Linked DNA regions of Homo sapiens: all the other regions are linked to region 1. Evidence: promoter capture Hi-C in 16 types of primary human blood cells and fetal thymus (Javierre and others, 2016). All regions are on one chromosome and are shown on one strand. Each heading gives the region's core, a stretch centred on a gene start or on the middle of the fragment in contact. The rest is flanking DNA. Distances are from core to core; before and after follow the strand shown.

Region 1 (2,819 bases), core at 163-2,662:
AGAAATGTTGAAATCTTTTCTCCTCCAAGGTTACTATCACCCTGCCTGTCCATCACAATTTTGATTTCAAGTATTCACGATGCTGGTCTGAAACACAGGATGCATCAGAAGCCAAGTAATGCTCAGCAAAAGTTCACCAAAATTGTGAAAGCAAACATTAAATAAAAAACGTTTTCAATTAACAGTAAAATATCTTTAAAGGATCATCTCTAGCCTTTCTTTCTGCAGGATCCACCCACTTTAAAATCCTTTGGTAAATTCCCAGGTCTACCCTAATTGAATGGTCCCTCTCTATCTGCTCAAGCAGTTCTTAACCCTTTGGAGTGGGGATGGGGGTAAGGGGACATCACAGCAAATATGGACCCTTACCAAAGAAAATTATTCACAAATGCAAAATTCTACACACATTTCCAAAGACTTCCAGAATCCCACGGCCATTACCCCCACCGCCTCCCTAAGAATCCCAGAGTGGCGTGCTTCTCAATGGCCTCTGCGGAGCACCCCCAGCCCCCAAGCCACAGCCCCCGGCTCGACCCCGAAGAGACTAGAGTTCCTGCTCTCACACAGCGGATTCCGTAACTGAGCTTTGTCTCCTCGCCCAACTCCCTTCACCCCGGCAAGGTCACTACCGCCAACTACCCCTTTAAGCCGAGCCATCACGGTAGGAGTTCGTAACAGCCACAGCAGAACTTGCCTGTCATAGGATATATTTTGTCCCCTCGGCCCCACCTACCCTCCCCATTTCGGCAAGTTACGTCTTTACCACTAGCCCATTCTACAGAAATAGCTGCCGCCGCCACCCTCCGGCGCGCCCCGGCCCCGCCGCTCCGCCTCCAGCGCCCCCAGGCCCATTTCCCGCAGACCCTCCCCGGGCCGCCCTCCCCTGCCCTACTCTAGGCGCTCCCTCTCCCTCGCAGCCACACCGTGGCTGCACTCGCCGTCCTCTCTTCCGGCCGCTACCACCCCGGCCCCCTAGAACCCCAGCCTCCCGCGCCCGCAGCCGCGTTCCTGTCTCCCCGACCTCCGCACCCCCACTTGGCCCGGCCTCCTCGCCTTCCTCCCGGCTCCTCCCCTCAGGACACCTGTGTCGTCCCACCCCCTCCACCACACACGCACCCCCCACCCCAATTCCTTCGCCTCCCTGTCCTCCCTCCCCCGCCGGTCTCCCCTCCCCGCTGCTGCCCCGAGAGCCCGATGTGGGAGGGAAGGCGCGGGGGAGGGGAGGCCGCGAAGGGGGCTGCTTTTCTCCGGGTTCCCCGTGCTGCGGAACTGCAGGGCTCCCCAGCGCCCTCTGCCTTCTTCGCCGGCGGCGCGGAAGTCGGGGTCTCCCGGACGCCCCCGATGAGGGTATTTACCTTCTTGCCGGGGACACTTTGCAGACGGCTCCAACATTGGCAAACACTACAGAGAACTGACCCCGCTCGGCCGCCGCCGGCTTCCACCCCTCGGGCTCCCCGCCCCCCGCCTCCGCCCGCCTCCGCCCGCCTCCCCGGCGCTCCCGCCGCGCCCTCCCGCGCTCGCGCCGCGCGCCCCCGCCTGCGCAGCCGCTCCCGCGCCCCAGCACGCCCGGCCGGCGCGCGCGCCCGGCACCGGCTCTACCTCCACTCCGCCTCCCGCCGGCCCGCGACCAAGCGCGGCCATTGTTCGCGACGCAGCTCCCGCCCCCTGGCGGCTGCCGGGCCCCAGCAGCTGCAGGCTCTGCGGGGCTAGCGGCGGCGAGCTGGGCCCCTGGGCGAGGGCCATTCCCGGGGGGCTTGGGCACGCGGGCGAGCGACTGCGCAAGGAGCGCGCCCGGTCCGCAGTCTCCTCGTCCCCGGCGCGACTCCCCGCCCCCTCGTCTGCCAAGGGTGGGCCTGGGGCAGCCCCTTCCACACCTGCAACTCGGCAACTTCCTTCCCCGCCCGACTGACCGTCTGCTCTTTCTGGTCCGCACCCTGTGCTCTGATTCCCCGCTCGTACCTTTCCCAGGCTCTCCGGCTGCCCCTCTGTGCTGTGCAGGGGACGCGCGACCATCCCGCGTCTGCTCCGGCCGCCGCTGTGCAACGCACGGTTTAGCGGATCTTGCACCTTTCTAGACGGGGGAGGGGGCGGGGAGGAGGTTGCTTCACCGTCTCGCCCAGCAAACACCAGGGATCCGTGATCACCTGCTCGCCAAGACCCGCGGCGTGGCCAGACCTCCTCTTCTACCGAAAATATTAGTCACATGAAAAAGAATCCTTGGAGCCAAAAATGAGAACCATTGAAAACAATGCCCTGAATCCTAGATTTATGAGGCAAGAGTGCCAGAAAACAGAAATTACGTCTTAATTCGTCCTGGTTTTGATGTGGATTACTTTTGTCTAGATAACTTCAACCCAGTTAAGCTCAATGAAACTGAACACTTCGTTTAGTAACCGGCACCAAAAATAATCTGACAAAGAAATTTCGAAATAGAACTATTAGTGTGTTTTCACAAACTTACTCGTTTGCAACGTTATTTCTAGGGTTTCTTCCCAGTGTCACTTCTCTGACTGAGAAATGTCTCCCAGGCCGGTGATTTCAGTCATCATCTAAAACCAATCTCATGTCTGCACCTGGGAAGGTAGTGTGTGTCCTGGTTAACCGCAAGGGCGCCAGAGTCAGATAACCAAGGCTGGATATCCGCTTGCTAACTGGTGAGGAGACCACGGGCATGTTACTTATCCTGTGCATCAAGAGGAGACTACATGTGATAGATAGTTCGTATTTAAATGTGACAATACATATGAAGCCCTTTAAATAGGACCGGGTATGTAGTACCTCTCCTGGTACAATGTTAGCTACAGCTATATTTTTCCTCC
Region 2 (3,229 bases), core at 547-3,046, 150 kb after region 1:
GCACGGTGGCTCACGCCTGTAATCCCAGCACTTTGGGAGCCAAGGTGCGCAGATCACGAGGTCAGGAGATTGAGACCATCCTGGCTAACACAAGGAAACCCCATCTCTACTAAAAATACAAAAAATTAGCCAGGCATGGTGGTGGGCACCAGTAGTCCCAGCTACTCGGGAGGCTGAGGCAGGAGAATGGCGTGAACCCAGGGAAACCCCATCTCTACTAAAAATACAAAAAATTAGCCAGGCATGGTGGTGGGCACCAGTAGTCCCAGCTACTCGGGAGGCTGAGGCAGGAGAATGGCGTGAACCCAGGAGGCAGAGCTTGCAGTGATACAAGATCACGCCACTGCACTCCAGCCTGAGCGACAGAGCGAGACTCTGTCTCAAAATAAATAATAAATAAATAAATAAATAAATAAAATAAAAATGTATAGTAGCCAGGCCAGGTGCGTGGCTCATGCCTGTAATCCCAGCACTTTGGGAGGCTGAGGCGAGCGGATCACTTGAGGTCAGGAGTTCGAGACCAGCCTGGCCAACATGGCGAAACCCCGTCTCTACTAAAAATACAAAAATTAGCCAGGCATGGTGGCATGTGACTGTAATCCCAGCTACTTGGGAGGCTGAGGCAGGAGAATCACTTGAAACCAGGAGGTGGAGGTTGTAGTGAGCCGAGATCACGCCACTGCAGTCCAGCCTGGACAACAGTGAGACTCTGTGTCAAAAATTAAAAAAAATATATGTATAGCAATGCCCTAGGCCTTCACATTCACTCAACACTCACTGACTCACACAGAACAACTTTCAGTCCTGCAAATTCCATTCATGGTAAATGCTATCAACCTAAATAATAAACAGAGAGAAGTTCTTTAAAAGAAAATGTGGCCGGGCACAGTGGCTCATGCCTGTAATCCCAGCCCTTTGGGAGGCCAAGGCGGGCAGATCACCTGAGGTCGGGAGTTCGAGACCAGCCTGACCAACATGAGGAAACCCCATCTTTACTAAAAATACAAAAATTAGCTGGGTGTGGTGGTGCATGCCTGTAATCCCAGCTACTTGGGAGGCCAAGGCAGGACAATTGCTTGAACCCAGGAGGTGGGGGTTGCGGTGAGTCAAGATTGTGCTATTGTACTCCAGCCTGGGCAACAAGAGCAAAACTTTGTCTCAAAAAAAAAAAAAAAAAAAAAAAAGAAAAGAAAATGTTTATTTTGGAATAGGGCATTGCAATGGGAATACATGTACCAGAGTAAACTATGTGTGTATTCAGGGAGGTAAAGGAAGACAAAGGTTTTTTAACTCTTTTCCCATTTGGCCCAAGAATACTTGCCAGCAGTGCTTGCGGCTGCAGCATACCCCAAGATAACTTTGCCACAAAATATCTGGCTTTTATTAATATTATTACGTTTGCATCACTCCAGTGTGTTGATTTTGGAAACAAAAGACATCATTCTATTTGTAGCATTCTGTTTTTAACAGTGGTAGTTCGATTTACACACAGTAATTCTCGATGGTTGAAAATCAAATCCTAGAAAATGTAGCATTCCTATATGTGATGTTAGTTGTTCTCAAACAGTTGTTGGCCGAAGAGTTATTTGATGAATCTGATTTTTCCTAAATAGACGATTCTGGTGATTCAGACAATTCTGATGTTAGTTCTGTTTAGAAATAACTCCAAGAATACTTTTTATGTTTTATTTTCACATTGAAAATCAGTCAGATTTGCTTCAGCCTCAATGAGCTTGTTTATGTAAAATTAAATGAGTGCTGGCAGCAAGCTGCACCTTTTTTTCCTAAGTGGGAAAAGGGGTAAAGGAAAAATGAAGAAGATGATTACTTAATAGTTTTGAGATGATTATCCTTGGCTACAAGAATCAATAACAAGGGCGATGCCAGTCTGATCAATAACCAGGGTGATGCCTGCAAATGGATAGGCAGTTGCTGGGCAGATAGCCTCACAGAAGTATATTTTTGTGTAAAGTTGTGATGGCCTTTGTGTAGGGTTATGGGTTTGGCAGTCTTTTGTGGTAATTCTTGTAGTTAGGCATTTTTTTATTTTATTTTTTTATTTTTATTTTTATTTTTTTTAGACAGAGTCTTGCTCTGTTGCCCAGGCTGGAGTGCAGTGGCTGTGATCTCAGCTCACTGCAAGCTCCGCCTCCTGGGTTCACACCATTCTGCTGCCTCAGCCTCCCGAGTAGCTGGGACTACAGGTGCCTGACACTATGCCTGGCTAATTTTTTTGTATTTTTAGTAGAGATGGGGTTTCACTGTGCTAGCCAGGATGGTCTCGATCTCCTGACCTCGTGATCAGCCTGCCTTGGCCTCCCAAAGTGCTGGGATTACAGGAGTGAGCCACCGCACCCTGCCGTAGTTAGGCATATGTACATGAGAACCCTCCCTTCATGGCCTTCCCTGGCTCTATTTGTCAGGGCCTTGTTTTGTTTTTAACATAAGTGACTCTATTTTAATTCTGAGAACTTTTACATTCCCCTCTTTGAGAAAGATCTTTCTCCAAAAGCATCACTGATCAATCATCCTGTAGGTAGGTTTTGATTGTCCCTTGGTGCCAGGGTGGACCTGCCCCAGGTTGCTGGTCTGGTCCCATGTTGAAGAAGTGATTGGTGACTAGGAGTCAGTGTCAAAACCTTTGAAGGCACATTTGAGCAACAACGGAGGTTTGAAAAGAGTGGCTGTCAGGCTAAGTGTACCTGGAGTTTATTGTTAAGTCCAATTTTGTCTGTTCTGTAGTTTTTGCTATAACCTCAAAGTTCAGGACCAGAATTATTCTGTTAGGAGTTGTACTTCTGCAAAAGTTTAACAGGTAACAGATACAAATTTTAAAAGGTAAAATATAAAGTAAAACTAATAGTGTTATGACAATCCCAGTTAGCATAATGGTTTTGAGCTATGAACTAGGCTTAAAAGCAACCAATTGAATGAATCAAACGACTGTTATCCTGTCAAGTGGAAAGGTAAGCATTAAGAGTCTCATGGGCCGGGCACACTGGCTCACACCTGTGATCCCAGCATTTTGTGAGGTTAAGGTGGGTGGATCGCTTGAGCCCAGGAGTTTGAGACCAGCCTGGGCAACATAAAGAAACCCCATCTTTTTTAAAAATAGAAAAATTAGCAGGGCCCGGTGGTGCACACCTGTAGTCTCAGCTACTTGGAGGCTGAGGTGGGAGGATCACCTGAGCCCAACAATCAGAGGTTGCAGTGAGCCAAGATCACGCCA
Region 3 (3,168 bases), core at 542-3,041, 240 kb before region 1:
AAATTTTTAAAAGCAGAGGGTCAGAAAACATCAGTGGCTGCCAGGGGTGGGGAAGAGAATAACTGCGAGGGGGTAGAGGGAAATATTTTGGGTTATGCAACTGTTTAATGTATTGATTAGTTATATAACTATGCATTTGCCAAAATTCACAGATTGGATATTAAAAAGGGTGATTACTGGGTGTAAATCGTAACTTTCTTTTTTTAAGAGAAAGATACTGAAAAGAAAGGAGCCACATATTTTCCTTATGTGAAAAAAAATAGGGTTTATGGTTTTCTCTGGTAGATAGTAAAAACAATTACTGGGGAATTATAGTAAAGAACAGTAAGATGAGAGATTTCTTCAATATACAACTGGTAAAAAAAAATTAAGAATAATATGCTTATGCAGAGGAAATTTCTTTTTTGTATTTGAGTTGATAATTTGACCTGGAATTTTTCTGTTGGCATAAAACTGTTAGAAATGCTTATTTTTTAAATTTCACAAAATTCTCAGGTAGTAAGCAAAGCATTAGAACAATAAAGGCCTCTACAACTAGTTCCATACAGCATTTTGATGTAAAAATATGCATAAATCTTTAATTGGAAAGTATATTTCTTTTTCTTTTTCTTTTTTTTTGAGACTGAGTTTCGCTCTTGTTGCCCAGGCTGGAGAGCAATGGCGTGATCTCGGCTCATGGCAACCTCCACCTCCTGGGTTCAAGCGATTCTCTTGCCTCAGCCTCCCAAATAGCTGGGATTACAGGCATGTGCCACCACACCCAGCTAATTTTGTATTTTTTTAAGTAGAGATGGGGTTTCTCCATGTTGGTCAGGCTGGTCTCGAACTCCCAATCTCATGTGATCCGCCCACCTCTGCCTCCCAAAGTGCTGGGATTACAGGCGTGAGCCACCGCGCCTGGCCAGAAAGTATATTTCTTTACAGTAAAAAATTAATAATATTTGGACAAATAGTCAAATTTGTACAAATAGTACAATTCAGATGTAACACACTAACTATAAACTATGTATTTTTACAAGAACTAATTTCAAAATATACATATATGGATGTATTAGTCCATTCTCACACTGCTAATAAAGACACACTCAAGACTGGGTAATTTATAAAGGAAACAGGTTTAACTGGCTCACAGTTCAGCATGACTGGGGAGGCCTCAGGAAACTTCAATCACGGCGGAAGGGGAAGCAAACACATCCTTCTTCACATAGCAGCAGCAAGGAGAAGAATGAGTGCCCAGTGAAGGGGGAAGCCCCTAATAAATCCATTAGATCTCCTGAGAACTCACTCACATCATGAGAACAGGATGGGGGAAACTGCCCCCAGGATTCAGTTATTTCCACCTGGTCCCTCCCACGACATGTGGGGATTATAGAAACTACAATTAAAGATGAGATTTTGGTGCCAAGCCTTATCAATGGATTTACACAATTGATATTTAGAAGCTCTTCAAATCTATTTGTAAATTTAAAAGTTAAGTAGAATCATCTCTGCCTTGCAATTGGGAGCTGCAGAAGGTCAACTGGCAGCGCCTGCCTGCGTGGGCAACGTTCTTGGTGACCACTGAAGGCAGTGTGGGCTCACCAAAGCGAGGCTGCTCTCTGGGTTCCTTCCTCTTTGGCTACTTATGGTGTCGGTGCATGAGATGCTCTATCTTATCCACGAAGGGAAACAACCTACTGGACATCTGAAAAAGTGAGGAAACTAAACATGCAGTGTTGTGCTTACTTCTAAGCAATGGAGCTAATCCAGAAGGGTCCATACCAGGCTGATTAAAGCACTTCTCTTTTGGTTTAGTATTCACCTTCATCAACATCACTTTCACCATCATAGTCATTCTACCCCTCCTCCTCATCTTCTTCTTCCCTCCTTTCCTCTTTAAGAACTTTCAGGTATTTACTAGTGGAAACCTTCTTTGGCAATAATACACCTTCAAGAAACTGAAAAATTTCTGATTCCTCTGCTGTATTTGCTAAATTACTGTTAGTGCTTTCTTCTTTCTACTGCCATGACCGTAGGAATAGATGGTTAGAGACTTAACAAAGAGTTGTGTGGCCTTGGCCAGGAGCACCTCGAGGTTGATGCACAACACCATGGGAGAACTCTTCATGATGACCAGATGTGGGACAGGGACAGCAAGAGAAGCCACTGCTCCCTGCACTTGTCTTTGCCCACAACCACGTCCCCCACTTTTCCGCCCCTCCCATGTGGGTGGCAGCTGGTGCCCCACCATGAGGTGGCTCTCAATTTTCATTTTCTTAATAATGTTGTTAATGCAAAAAAGTTTTAAGTTTTGGTAAAGTCCAATTTACCAATTTCTTCTTGTATGGATCATGATTTTGGTGTCATATCTAAGAACTCTTTGCCTAACCCAAGATCATGAACATTTCTCCTATGGTTCTTTGAGAAGTTTTAAAGTTTTGGGTTTTACATTTAAGTCTATTATCTATTTTGAGTGAATTTTTGCATATGGTATGAGGTAAGGCTCCAAATTCATCTTTTTCATATGAATGTTTTATTTTCCCAGTACCCTCTGTTGAAAATGTTATTCTTTCCTGATTAAATTTCCTTGGCATTTTTATTGAAAATTGATCAAAAATAAATATAAAAGTTCATTTCTGGACTCTCAATTCTGTTCCACTGATCTACATGTCTATCCTTAATGCCACTAAGTAGAGTACTGTAGTTTTACAGTAAAACTTAAAATTCAGTAGTGTAAATGTTTCAATTTTGTTCTTCCTTTTCAAAACTGTTTTAGCGATTCTGGTCTCTTTGCATTTCCATACACATTTTAAGATCAGCTTGTCAACTGCTATCCCCAAAAGCCTGCTGGGATTTTGACAGGGATTGTATTAAATCTATAGGTCAATTTAAGAGAAAGTGCGAACTTAACACTAAAGGTTCATCTAATCCATGAACATTGAATACCTCTCATTTGTTTTAGATCTTTAATTTCTTTTAGCAATATTTTATAGTTTTCCATGTGCAAATCTTGCATCTCTGTGTTTAAACTGATTCCTAAGTATTTTATTCTTTTTGATGCTACTGTGAATGAAATGGTCTTAATTTCATTTTTGGTTTTTTTTTACCAGTATATAGAAATACAACAAATTTTTGTATATTCATCTATAAATTATATCCTGTCTGTAACTGAACTTGTTTATCAGTTCT
Region 4 (2,994 bases), core at 4-2,503, 170 kb after region 1:
TAGCAAGAGATTTTGAACTGTCACATATCAGTATTTCATAGATGAGAACCATTTCATAATTTTTATTTTTATTTATGTATTTATTTATTTGAGACAGAGTTTTGCTCTTGCCACCCAGGCTGAAGTTCAGTGGTGTGATCTCAGCTCACTGCAGCCTCTGCCTCCCAGGTTCAAGCGATTCTCCTGTCTCAGCCTCCCAAATAGCTGGGATTACAAGCATGCGCCACCATGCCTAGCTAATTTTTTTTTTTTTTTGTATTTTTAGTAGAGATGGGGTGTCACTATGTTGGCCAGGCTAATCTCGAACTCCTGACCCAGGTGATCTGCCCACCTCAGCCTCCCAAAGCACTGGGATTACAGGCGTAAGCTACCATTTCATAATTTTAGAAACATGTTTCCCAGCTGGGCATAATGGCTCATTCCTATAATCCCAGCACTGTGGGAGGACAAGGTGGGAGGATTGCTTAAAGCCAGGAGTTTAAGACCAGCCTGGATAACAAAATGAGACCCCATCTTTACAAAAAATTTAAAAAATTAGCCAGGCATGGTGGCACATGCGTTAGTCCCAGCTACTCAGGAGGCTAAGTAGGAGGATTGCTTGAGCCCCAAAACTTGGAAATGATCTGGATATTTATGAGTACCTATCACTTAATTTAACATAACATTAAGATTTCAAGTTACATGGAAACTTAATTTATTAACATTTATCTCATATACATTTACCTAATTAATCTATTTGTAATTGTTATAACAATTATACCTAGATTAGTTAGGAAAACTGATATATTAGATAAAACTAGTCATCTTTTCAAGTTGTTTCCCTGTTAACCATTTTTATAGAGTGTGACCATCAGGTGTTCACCTAAGAACCTTAAATTTAAATATATAGGTATTTTGCCTACAACTCAGAAGTTACAGTTCTTTTCTTTTCTTTTTTTGAGGCGGAGTTTTGCCCTTATTGCCTACACTGGCGTGCAATGGCATGATCTCGGCTCACTGCAACCTCCTCCTCCCGGGTTCAAGTGATTCTCCTGCCTCAGCCTCCCGAGTAGCTGGGATTACCGGAATGCACCATCATGCCCAGCTAATTTTGTATTTTTAGTAGAGATGGGTTGCCTCCATGTTGGTCAGGCTGGTCTCGAACTCCCAACCTCAGGTGATCCGCCCGCCTCGGCCTCCCAAAGTGCTAGGATTATAGGTGTGAGCCACCACGCCCAGCCTGATACAGTTATTTTCATTATACCAACAATATTGCACAAGACTATTCTGTTTTTAGGTTTAATTTATAGTTTGATAACTTTTGTGACAAGCCCTTACAGTTAAAACATCTAGTGGGAACAAATATAAAACTGTCTGACCAGTAAATCCAGGCAAAAATGTATACTGAAAATTCCGAAGATATTTTTATTTTTATTCTACTACCAAATTTAAAATCAGCTTCTTTGTCAAAATTTACTTGTCACATTAATTAAAAGGCATTGAGTTAATTATTATATATGTTACTTGAATGCTCATTTATCTAAGCCAATCTGAATAGAATTTCTTAAGGGAACTTTGATAATGCCATATTTTACCATGTAAACACAACATATAACATAATACATATGCATGTACATAAACATACCTAAACACATATACACACACAAGGCTCTGATAGCTTTCGTTTTAGAATTTTAGTCATAAGATAGTAAAACAAACATGAGTTCAAAAAAGACAGTTGGATCCAAATTACTTTTTGACAAAATGGGACCTGTTCACATGGCTCAGTTTTTATTTGACCTGAAAGGTAACCTAATGAAGGCTGTGAACCAAAATTTTGGGCAAAACAGTTCCCATAGAAGTTTCAATTAAAAACAAACACTTTTTACTCTTTTAACAGTTTCAAATGAGTTTAGGGTTAAATATTTAAATGTTTACATTTTAGTTGAAACTGGCTGAATTGTGTAAGAAATACAAAATCTCCAAGTGGCCTTGAATTCGTAACAAATCTTTCTTTTGTTTACTGGTCTGGCTTGCTTGACTAGTCAATGCAGGCAGGGAAACATTTTAGCAGTTTTTTTCCATTGGCTTTTGCTTGTTTTAGCCTCTGTGTGGCAGACAAAACAATGTTTATGCTGGACAGAGATTTATTATTATTGCTCTGAACTCAAGATTTCAATCTGTTTAATCTAAGATTCTAACTTTTATAAATATTTATTATCTAGTTCTTTTTTTTTTTTTTAGGATATCAATCCTTCAATTAACTGTTCTATTACCCTAAGCAATTGTTAGTCAGGCAAACCTACTTTTACATTTTCAAACAGTCTCCTGGTTGTTGGTTGTCATGGAGTTGTTGTAATTTATAAAGCCATTAATTTCAAAGCACTTTAAGACTTTTAAGCCAGGCATGGTGGCTCATGTCTGTAATTCCAACACTTTGGGAAGACAAGGTGAATGGATTGCTTGAGCCCTGGAGTTCAAGACCAGCCTGGGCAACATGGGGGAGATGCCACTCCACCAAACCAAACAAAAACCAAAAACCAGAAATTAGCTGGGTGTGGTAGCACATACCTGTAGTCCTGGCTACTTGGGAGCTGAGGTGAGAGGATTGCTTGAGCCTGGGAGGTAAGGCTGCAGTGAGCCATGATCATGCCACTGCACTCCAGCCTGAGTTACAGAGTGAGACTACATCTCCAAAAAAAAAAAAAAATGTGGCCAGGCACAGTGGCTCACGTCTGTAATCCCAGCACTTTGGGAGGCCAAGGCAGGCAGGTCTCTTGAGGTCAGGAGTATAATACCAGCCTGGGCAACATGGTGAAACCCCATCTCTACTAAAAATACAAAAATTAGCCAGGCATGGTGGCACATGCCTGTAATTCCAGCTACGTGGGAAGCTGAGGTGGGAGAATCACTTGAACCCGGGAGGGGGAGGTTGCACTGAGCCAAGATTGTGCCACTGCACTCCAGCCTGGGAGACTGAGCAAGACTCTGTCTCAAAAAAAAAAAAAGAAAAAA
Region 5 (2,840 bases), core at 164-2,663, 200 kb after region 1:
TATTTTAATAGAAGATAATTCATGTAGGATATCTTCAATGCATTATAATATGATTTTCACTGTATCTCTTCACATGTTATTCCATAACATTCTAATTGGATGGAGAAAGACTGGAATAGTTCAAAAAGGTGTAGCTTTTAAGATCTGAATAAAGTTAATAGTGAGTCTTTTAAAATACATTTAAACAACTGGAAGTATAATCACAACAAGGGACTATGAAGGAAGAATAAATATTGCAAACGACGCTTTATAGTCAATGCAAATACAGTACTTTGAATTACCCAAAATGTATAATGCACAAGAACTCTAAGTCATGTAGTTTACTTGCTGACCATCTGGCTACAGTTCAGTTTCTTCTGCAAAAGCTGTACCTAGTAACCTTCCAAAATTGTTTTTAAATAAAGTTCTTAAATTGTAGCAATAAACAAAAGGACAAAGTACACTTAAAGAATACTGCAGTTTATCAAAAGACATAAGAAATTTCAACTCATACTTGGAGAGTTATAAAAATCAATGTTTTGGCTAAGTTATAAACATGTTTATAATGCAATTATTTGCATAACTCTAGTAATGCTAATGGCGGCTATAAGATTAGGTTTCTAAAAAACCACTAAAAACATAAAAATACTTAGCCTCATTATTTCCCTGTAGAACGTATTGATTTACACCTAAATTTCAGTATTTACTATATCATCATTGCTGATTTTAAGTCACATTCAAAGGATAAGGCAAAACCACCTACGAATTGGCATATTTGTTTATTTCTCAGTTTGTGAAAATGTCCTTAATTTGTTGATGTAGCAAACAAATTTCAACTTTGATTGCTATGCAAAAAAACAAGATAATCTGCTTTGCAATGAACTTTATATAGTTCAACTGCATACAGGCAACATGCTATATATGAAAAAGTTACTAACTGAACTACAGGTATTAAATACTGAAAAGAGTTAACAGTTTATTATAATTTATTTTATTTAACAATCTAAGAAGTTCGCAGCCATCAGCAGTTCCAGTGCAATTTCAGGTGCAATTGGGAATTCAGGAATCTCGGTGGAGCTGTTAGTGTAGCGAACCTTGTACGTAAAATACATGCATACTTTCGATAGCACATGTGAAGGTATCTCTCTAAAATTGACCTCATTGGTTTCGTTCTCAGCAAACTGACCTGTAAAACAAAAGAATTATGTATGTTATTGGCTGAATTGTGTCCTCCAAATTCATATGTTGAAGTCTTAACCCCTTGTACCACAGAATGTGGCTGTATTTAGAGATAAGTTCTTTAAAGAGGTAATTAAAAGAGGTCATTAGGGTGGCAATCCAATATGATTGGTGTCTTTTTGTTTGTTTGTTTGAGACAGAGTCGCGCTCTGTCACCCAGGCTGAAGTGCAATGGCGGGATCTCAGCTCACTGCAACCTCCACCTCCCAGGTTCAAGCGATTTTCCTGCCTCAGCCTCCTGAGTAGCTGGGATTACAGGTGTGCAGCACCACGACCGGCTAATTTTTGTATTTTTAGTAGAGACGGGGTTTCACCATGTTGGTCAGGCTGGTCTCAAACTCCTGACCTCATGATCCACCCACCTCAGCCTCCCAAAGTGCTGGGATTACAGGCATGAGCCACCGCGCCCGGCCATGATTGGTATTCTCGTAAGAGATCCGGACAGAGATGGGCATAGAGGGAAAACTGTGTGAAGACAGGAAGAAGATGGCCATGTACAAGACAAAAAGAGAGCCTCAGAAGAGACCAACTCTACTTTCAACCTCTACACTCCAGAATTGTGAGAAAATAAAGTTCTGTTGTTCAAGCCATCTAGGGGTGGTACTTTGTTATGGCAGCCCTAGCAAACTAATCATCATTAAAATAACCTCAATTAGCACCAAATGAATTATGGAATTCTGATTTTTTTAGTATTAACCTAAGTTTTTTTCTTTTTTTTGACATAGAGTCTTGATCTGTTGCCCAGGCTGGAGTGCAGTGGCATGGTTGTGGCTCACTGTAACCCCTGCCTCCTGGGCTCAAGTGATCCTCCCACCTCAGCCTCCTCGAGTAGCTGGGACCACAGGTGAGCGCCACCATGTCTGGATAATTCTTGTATTTTTTGTAGAGACAGAGTTTTGCCATGTTGCCCAGGCTGGTCTTGAACTACTGGACTCAAGTGATCCCCCTGCCTCAGAATCCCAAAGTGCTAAGATTACAGGCTTGGCCACTTGCACCTGGCCAACATTAAAAAAAACCTTTACTAAAATAGTACTTGAGGGCCGGGCGGGGTGGCTCATGCCTGTAATCCCAGCACTTTGGGAGGCTGAGGTGGGCGATCATTTGAGGTCAAGAGTTCGAGAGCAGCCTGACTAACATAGTGAAACCCCATCTGTACTAAAAATACAAAATTAGCTGGCCGTGGTGGTGAGTGCCAGTAATCCCAGGTACTCGGGAGGCTGAGGCAGGAGAATTTCTTGAACCCAGGAGGCAGAGGTTGCAGTGAGCCAAGATTGTGCCATTGCACTCCAGCCTGGGCGACAAGAACGAAACTCCGTCTCAAAAAAAAAAAAAAGATAGTACTTGAGATTCATCAAGACTGAATTTTAAAATTCTAATTCTCTCCCTGTGGGTTGGAAACTTAAGTAGCTTTTCCTAACAATCTTGGTGGTATGATTGGCGAGCAGGATGAAAAAGTAAAATCATTTTTAAAAAAGATCAATCCAGGCAATCAAGTCTTTATGGATCATTAGGATCCCTGTGTTGTACTGAATTGCCATGTAAAAATAAAGTCAGGGCAAATAACAGGTTTTCTGATTTGGCTTTTCTGAGAATTAGTGAATATATAAAATCACCTGAATCCA
Region 6 (3,272 bases), core at 474-2,973, 170 kb before region 1:
TCAATGTAATTTTTTAAAGACTATAGCTTCTCACCACTCAGGTAGGTCTAATATACAGTCATCAATGTAAAAGAAGGATGATATCATTCTGAAATATTTGGATCTTTCCTCCTGTGTTCAGAGGAGAAGCAGCAATTCTACCTGCAGGCTCAAATGGACAGCAATGAGAATATGTATGTTCCCATTGCTCCCAATTGCTTCAGATAGCCCTCTATTTACGGGACCTTTGTTTGAAAACAACCAGATATTCAGGGACTGGGCTGCCCAGTACAAGTAACCCACCAATCCTTCTAAATAAGATCACTAAAAGCTGGCTACATTCTTACATTTCTAACACAGTATTTATGTCTAAAGAAATAATTAAGTTGGATCACTCAGCTTTATATTTACATCCAATTGGCTCCAACTGTTTTAACTGTCTCACTACAAAGTGGTTTCTACTATGGGAACCCCAAAGGGAATTTGTTCAGGGAGCTCTCTCAAAACACTATTAAAGAAAGTATATATTAATCTGTCACCTTAAAAGTCCAACACTTATATACCTCCCTTCTATCTCCCACCCCTACCCACCCCCCCAAAAAAACCAAAAAAACACTAGAGGTTCTAAATATAGTACATAGCATTTGGGAAACCAGCAGGCAATCTACCCAATGTCATATCACTGGGACAGTGTAGCCTCCTGGTTTCAGGATGTTCAGTGTTTAATAATACATGCATATGAAACAAAAGTGACAAAAATATTGGTAAGTCAACTAAGATCCTAAAGAGGTCAATAAGAATGCTATCTCATTCCACAAGTATTTGTCTTTGGTCATCTCTAATGAACCTACAAGTGCCAGCATATTTCACAGGGGCTAAATAAAACTTTTTAAAAGGTTAACGGAAAAATATTTATGTGAAAAATGCCTCCGAATAATCTTTTAGTGGGTGGATTTGGCACATACCAGTGAATACCTTTGAGCTTAGTCCAATCTTGAATTAAGCTACAGTTCACCTTCAAGAAACTATGAACCTGCTTTTAAGTAAAAGCCTGTATTAATAAGAAACATGGAATGTGAATACAAAAAGAGATGTTATCAGCTGAACTGTATCTAAATATTTTACAAAGTTTTCCAAGAGCCGTGAGCTGTCAGTAGATCTTTAAAATTCATGATCTTTTTTTAAAAAAGTTATTCATTCATCTGTAAAAATCTAGTTTTTTATGTGTACACCAAGCATAAAATTGCCCTATGCTAAACTTAACATAAACCTCACATTACAGAGTTATGTGTTTTTATTCTTCAACATAACTATTACAGTGATTCAAAGGATAAAAACACACTTAGAATAGTCTACCTTCTGCTGCATTTCAGTACAATGAAGAAAGCCTGAGCAGCACCCAAAAACTAGGTCCATATTTTAAATCTGCAGGCAATCAAGCAAGGAAAATAAATTGAGGAACCAGGCTATGTAATCACAATCACTTGCAAAACCATTTAAACTATTTTCTAGTTGTAATTGTTAGCAGTTTCCTATGACTGTAATCTTTTAAAAAATATCTTCCACTTAAAAAATTAAATGCACATGTACATTAATGTTTTTTGTCTACTTATAGTTAGGTGCTATGCCAGATTAAAATTCCCCTCTTTCCCCTTTCCAATTCTACATTCCCTTTTCATTTTTGTACATTATGGTTCCAAGCTAATTTCGTATTATTTATCCAAATAATGGGTGGCTAAAAATTTGATCTTTAAAACTACAATTTTGAAGCAATGTAGAGTTTAACAAAACATAACAAACAAAAAACCATAGTGAGTTAGCCATTTCATGATGACAGTGTTTTTCACAAAGTAATATGTTACCTTTTCAGATGTTATTCAAGGATGGGTAATCATTTTATAAATGTTACATAATTAAAGATTCTCAACATTATAAATTAGTATGCATAACTCTTAACAGAGAAAATTGAATAATAAGATGTAAATTGAGTTGTTCAAGGTCAGACAGTATGTCAGTGAGGCAGCCAGCACTGGCAATCTCAAATTCCTGTCTTCCCCCACATGTGCCATCCCACAAGATCCCTGCTCTAACCTTTGCCTGCAAAATGCTAACTCTGGTATTCTTCACAGGACAGAAACCATTTAGAATAGAATTTCAAACTTAAGAAACTGATTAAGAAGTTAACCTAAATATTACCATAATATATGAATTTAAATTAATTTTCAGCTAATTGGTCCATCATCTGAATGATCAATTCCTAAGCACAGTCCAACTTCTTCCTAATGTTGTATTTAAGTGCCAATGAGCTGGCTCAAGGGGACTCAGGTTTCACTTGTGAGAACTAACCCTTGGGGAATGAAACAGCTACTTTTCAGAGCTGGGCTGCCCTTATCCTCTATCGTAATCCAAGGAAGGGACAATCCAGTGTTCATTCAAAGAACTCTTAGAGCAGCTTTCTCACCTCCTTACAGCTGGGAAGAGATAACAGAACATTCTTATTTCAAAGCCTTAATCTGAACCATTGTAGACCATGAATTCCTAAAGCATTAACCGTCTGGTTAAGATTTAAGCTGGCTTCAAATAGTTTTCTCACTTCTAACTTTATGTCTCAAGCAAACCCGTTATGCATTCTTACACATTTCTGATCACTTAAACTCACTGGCCTCTTTGTGATATTCCTTCCCATGTCTGCACAGGACAGAAGTATCCCCCACTTGTCATCCCATGAGATGTATCCCTTAGCAAGTTAAAAAAAAACAAACACATAAAGCTAGGGGCCAAAACATCATTGTTTAATGATGGAGCCTGCAGGTTATCTATAAAGTGATTTCACGTTAAAATTGTCAAGTTAATAACTATTTGATCTTTATATTAAAATACATAAAGTTTATATTCTTTGAAAAAAAAGTTTAGTGCCTGAATGTAACTATTCAATAATAAGCTATATATTCTTGGTCACCATATGTATGCACAAACCATCTGACAGACAAAAGTATAAGAATGGAATTTCTGGCACGCCTACATAGAATAGTATCATTTTTATAAAAGACAAGAGGGAGGAGGCATGGAAGGAAATCAACATTCATTACGTGCTTACTAGGAAACAGGTACTGTGCTAAGTACTTTACATAAAACTGCAATCAATTTCATGTTTATTACATTCCCTCACCAAATCATTATAAACCAATATATTCAAACATCAAAGGAACTGAACACAAACTCTAGGAATCCTGAACTGATTCCATTTTTTCCTTGGGCTATGTGCTAAGGCCATCATATTCATCACCCCTATT
Region 7 (3,113 bases), core at 83-2,582, 240 kb after region 1:
GCACCCTATGGGTGTAGGAAAACCACTGTTATTAAACAGGTGAAAAATACCTTGTGTAAAATTGCTGTCTCTATGCTAGCTTTGTCAAGAATATCCATTGTAAGATTTTTACCTCTATTGTAAAGTGGAGATTGACTCTTGCCAAGGATTTTTAGCCAGGAACAAGAGGCCTCAAACCACACTATTTAGATCAGTAGATATTTACTAAGTGCCCAGTACTGTGCTAGTTACTAAGATCACAGTTAAGAATGAAACACCCCGTCTGTCTTTATGGAGCTACCTAACATTGTCTATGGCCACCATGATAGTAAATTTAAACTTTATGGCGTACATGTGTATGAGGGAGGTTGATGGGGAAGCAGCAGGAACATCTGTTCAAAGAGATCATTCAACTCCCAGGCTGCTCGAAACTTATTCATAGGAGATAAGACAGAAAAGCTGTCTTTCTGAGACGTAGAGCCTGCCCTCTGCTTGGATTGTCCAGCTCACCAGACTGAGAATTCCCACCGCCATTCCTCTGTGCCATCTTCTGCTCAAGGTGGGTTTTTGCCTGCTTGCTTCTCTGTCCTTTGTCCCCTAGATGTATCCTAGCAATGAATGAGAGATGTGTTTCTATTTTTTTCATAGCAACCTACTAGATAAGGGAAGCTTGTCCAGCCTGCAGCCCAGGACGGCTTTGAATGTGGCCCAACACAAATTCGTAAACTTAAATTTTATTTTTGAGATTTTTTTTTTAAGCTCATCACTATCATTAGTATATTTTATGTGTGGCCCAAGACAATTCTTCCAACGTGGCCCAGGGAAGCCAAAAGATTGGACACCCCTAAGATAAGAGATATCTTTCTATAGAAAGTTATTCTATGATCAAATGTTTATTATGGATACATTAGAAAGTAGAAGGAAGAAAGAGGCTGGGTGTGGTGGCTCTTGCCTGTAATCCCAGCTACTTGGGGGGCTGAGGTGGGAGACTCGCTTGAACCTGGGAGATCAAGACTGCAGTGAGCTGGGATCACATCACTGCACTCCATCCAGGGTGACAGAGCAAAACCCCATCTCAAAAACAAAAAAGGAAAAAATCACTCCTAGTTCCCCCTAGAAAAAATAGCATTGTTTACATTTTAAAGATCTCTTCCAATATTACATCTCTTCATAACTTGTTTTAAGTGCAATATATTTCTTTATGTTATAAATAAAGTTTTGGTGCTGCAAAAGAAATAGCACTCAAATATAACATTTTATTTTTTTCTTCTCAGCAAGGCAGTTTACTTCTATAGAAGGGGGCGCCCTCACAGATGGAGCAATGGTGAGCGCACACTTGGACAAGGGAGGAAAAGGGGGTCTTATTCCTGACACATGTGGCCCCTGCTGCTCTGTTGTTCTCCTATTGGCTAGGGTTAGACCGCACAGGCTAAACTAATTCCGACTGGCTAATTTAAAGAGACTGATAGGGTGAGTGGTTTGGCGGGAAAAATGGTTGTGGAGAATGAGCAGGTAATTGGAATGAGTCAGGGTGGAGCAGGTAATCAGAAAAGGTTGCTTTACGAGGAAGTTAAGTTTAAAAGTAGAAGGCAAAGAATTGAACATACATATTGACTCTTTGAAGAGAAATTTAGAACTCATATCTAACATTTACATGTTCTATATCCATGTGATCATTTTATGACTGTGCTCTCGGTCCCACAGCCGTGAAGAGGATGCCCTGCAGACTCACTGCCCACCGGCTCCCTCCCCCGCATCCCTGCAACCCCAGAGGCGAAGATGGCCTCAGGAGTGCAAGTAGCTGATGAAGTATGTCGCATTTTTTATGACATGAAAGTTCGTAAATGCTCCACACCAGAAGAAATCAAGAAAAGAAAGAAGGCTGTCATTTTTTGTCTCGGTGCAGACGAAAAGTGCATCATTGTAGAAGAAGGCAAAGAGATCTTGGTTGGAGATGTTGGTGTAACCATAACTGGTCCTTTCAAGCATTTTGTGGGAATGCTTCCTGAAAAAGATTGTCGCTGTGCTTTGTATGATGCAAGCTTTGAAACAAAAGAATCCAGTACAGAAGAGTTGATTTTTTTTTTGTAGGCATGAGAACTAGCACCTCTGAAAAGTAAAATGATCTGTGCAACATCCAAGGATGCAATGAAAAAGAAATTTCAAGGCATTTTATCAGTGTGTAGTGGAGTGAAAAACTTGTTTTTATTGGTTGATATCAGAATAATTCTTCAGAAGGCAACTTGGTAGTCTAGGGGAAAAATATGCTTTCACTAAGTGGGAAAGGTGACATCTCAAGGGCATGATATGGAGTGAGAATCTAGGACAGAGAAAGGATCAGCATGCATAGGATAACAGGATGATTCATCACTGAAATAATCAGCAGAACCAACTCAGGCCAAGGTTAGGAGGAGAAACATAGGCACCTCCCTCATGCCACTTTGCTATCCTACCCCAGGCAGAGTAATCTCAGGAAGACTGGGAAGGTAATGAATCTCTCACTGTCTAGCAAAGGTGAATCACTTATTTGCATCACAAAAGTCACCTATTTGCATGTGAAAAGGCAAGGTGATCCTAGCTGACATCTGGGTTACATCAGGTAATAACCCTGTTAACAATAAAATATTGCAATCCTTTTCTCTAATGTAGATTTCACTGTACTGAAAGGCTTTTGGAAGCAAAAGTAACAAGATGGCCATTAGATATGAATGGCAGTCTTAGCTTGAATGTATTTGTAAAAATTTTATTCTGATTCTTTTAGAACACCTTGAACTTGCTTTTATTTTTATTGAGAATTTCAAACACAAAAGTAAAAGAGTACAGTGAACCTGCATGACTCTATCATCCAGATTCAACAATGACCAATTTATAGTCACTATTGTTTCATCTAGACCTAATCATTTGCCCTCTACTTTTTGGGGAAAGCAAATTCCAGTCATAATAATATTTCTTTCTTAAATATTTACTTTTGTAACTCTACAAGATGAGGACTTATTTTAAAATGTAGCTACAATACCATTATCAGATCTACAAAAACAAAACAACCTCACAGCCCTAATGTCATCAATCTATCAGTCTGTTTAAATTTCCAATTGCTTCATAATTTTTTCCCACATTTGGTTTGATTTAAGATT

The links. Contacts are between HindIII fragments. The CHiCAGO score rates a contact against its expected background, and 5 or more counts as called.
Region 2: a fragment that was not itself captured here is called in contact with the fragment with the promoter of STAU2 in region 1 in 6 of 17 cell types (neutrophils, activated CD4 T cells, non-activated CD4 T cells and 3 more); the score reaches 12.8 in neutrophils.
Region 3: a fragment that was not itself captured here is called in contact with the fragment with the promoter of STAU2 in region 1 in 1 of 17 cell types (neutrophils); the score reaches 5.5 in neutrophils.
Region 4: a fragment that was not itself captured here is called in contact with the fragment with the promoter of STAU2 in region 1 in 5 of 17 cell types (neutrophils, activated CD4 T cells, naive CD8 T cells and 2 more); the score reaches 9.1 in neutrophils.
Region 5: a contact is called between a fragment that was not itself captured here and the fragment with the promoter of STAU2 in region 1, in 7 of 17 cell types (activated CD4 T cells, neutrophils, naive CD8 T cells and 4 more). The highest score is 11.8, in activated CD4 T cells.
Region 6: a contact is called between a fragment that was not itself captured here and the fragment with the promoter of STAU2 in region 1, in 1 of 17 cell types (neutrophils). The highest score is 8.0, in neutrophils.
Region 7: a fragment that was not itself captured here is called in contact with the fragment with the promoter of STAU2 in region 1 in 1 of 17 cell types (neutrophils); the score reaches 5.7 in neutrophils.

What each region holds. Positions count from the first base shown.
Region 1 is chr8:73,745,428-73,748,246 of GRCh38, forward strand. STAU2 (staufen double-stranded RNA binding protein 2) reads right to left here and starts at 1,413. Exons shown (of 15, transcript NM_001164380.2): 1 at 1,356-1,413. RefSeq lists silencers at 816-875, 986-1,165, 1,456-1,545, 1,626-1,915. The HindIII fragment of the contact is 14,890 bases long and covers 1-2,819 here.
Region 2 is chr8:73,899,608-73,902,836 of GRCh38, forward strand. No RefSeq gene overlaps it. Among named protein-coding and RNA genes, the nearest start is that of LINC01617, 22 kb to the left of the region's middle. The HindIII fragment of the contact is 6,386 bases long and covers 1-3,229 here.
Region 3 is chr8:73,509,467-73,512,634 of GRCh38, forward strand. The region is part of intron 13 of STAU2 (staufen double-stranded RNA binding protein 2); the gene reads right to left. Among named protein-coding and RNA genes, the nearest start is that of STAU2-AS1, 91 kb to the left of the region's middle. The HindIII fragment of the contact is 4,279 bases long and covers 1-3,168 here.
Region 4 is chr8:73,918,815-73,921,808 of GRCh38, forward strand. No RefSeq gene overlaps it. Among named protein-coding and RNA genes, the nearest start is that of LINC01617, 41 kb to the left of the region's middle. The HindIII fragment of the contact is 9,703 bases long and covers 1-2,994 here.
Region 5 is chr8:73,945,656-73,948,495 of GRCh38, forward strand. ELOC (elongin C) reads right to left here. Exons shown (of 4, transcript NM_005648.4): 4 at 1-1,165. The coding sequence ends at 975. Among named protein-coding and RNA genes, the nearest start is that of ELOC, 25 kb to the right of the region's middle. The HindIII fragment of the contact is 7,172 bases long and covers 1-2,840 here.
Region 6 is chr8:73,578,419-73,581,690 of GRCh38, forward strand. All of the region lies in intron 12 of STAU2 (staufen double-stranded RNA binding protein 2), which reads right to left. Among named protein-coding and RNA genes, the nearest start is that of STAU2-AS1, 160 kb to the left of the region's middle. The HindIII fragment of the contact is 3,568 bases long and covers 1-3,272 here.
Region 7 is chr8:73,982,735-73,985,847 of GRCh38, forward strand. It overlaps TMEM70 (transmembrane protein 70), which reads left to right. Exons shown (of 3, transcript NM_017866.6): 3 at 1-49. It also overlaps the pseudogene DSTNP3. Among named protein-coding and RNA genes, the nearest start is that of LY96, 7.1 kb to the right of the region's middle. RefSeq lists an enhancer at 2,226-2,808 and a silencer at 2,306-2,506. The HindIII fragment of the contact is 1,373 bases long and covers 647-2,019 here.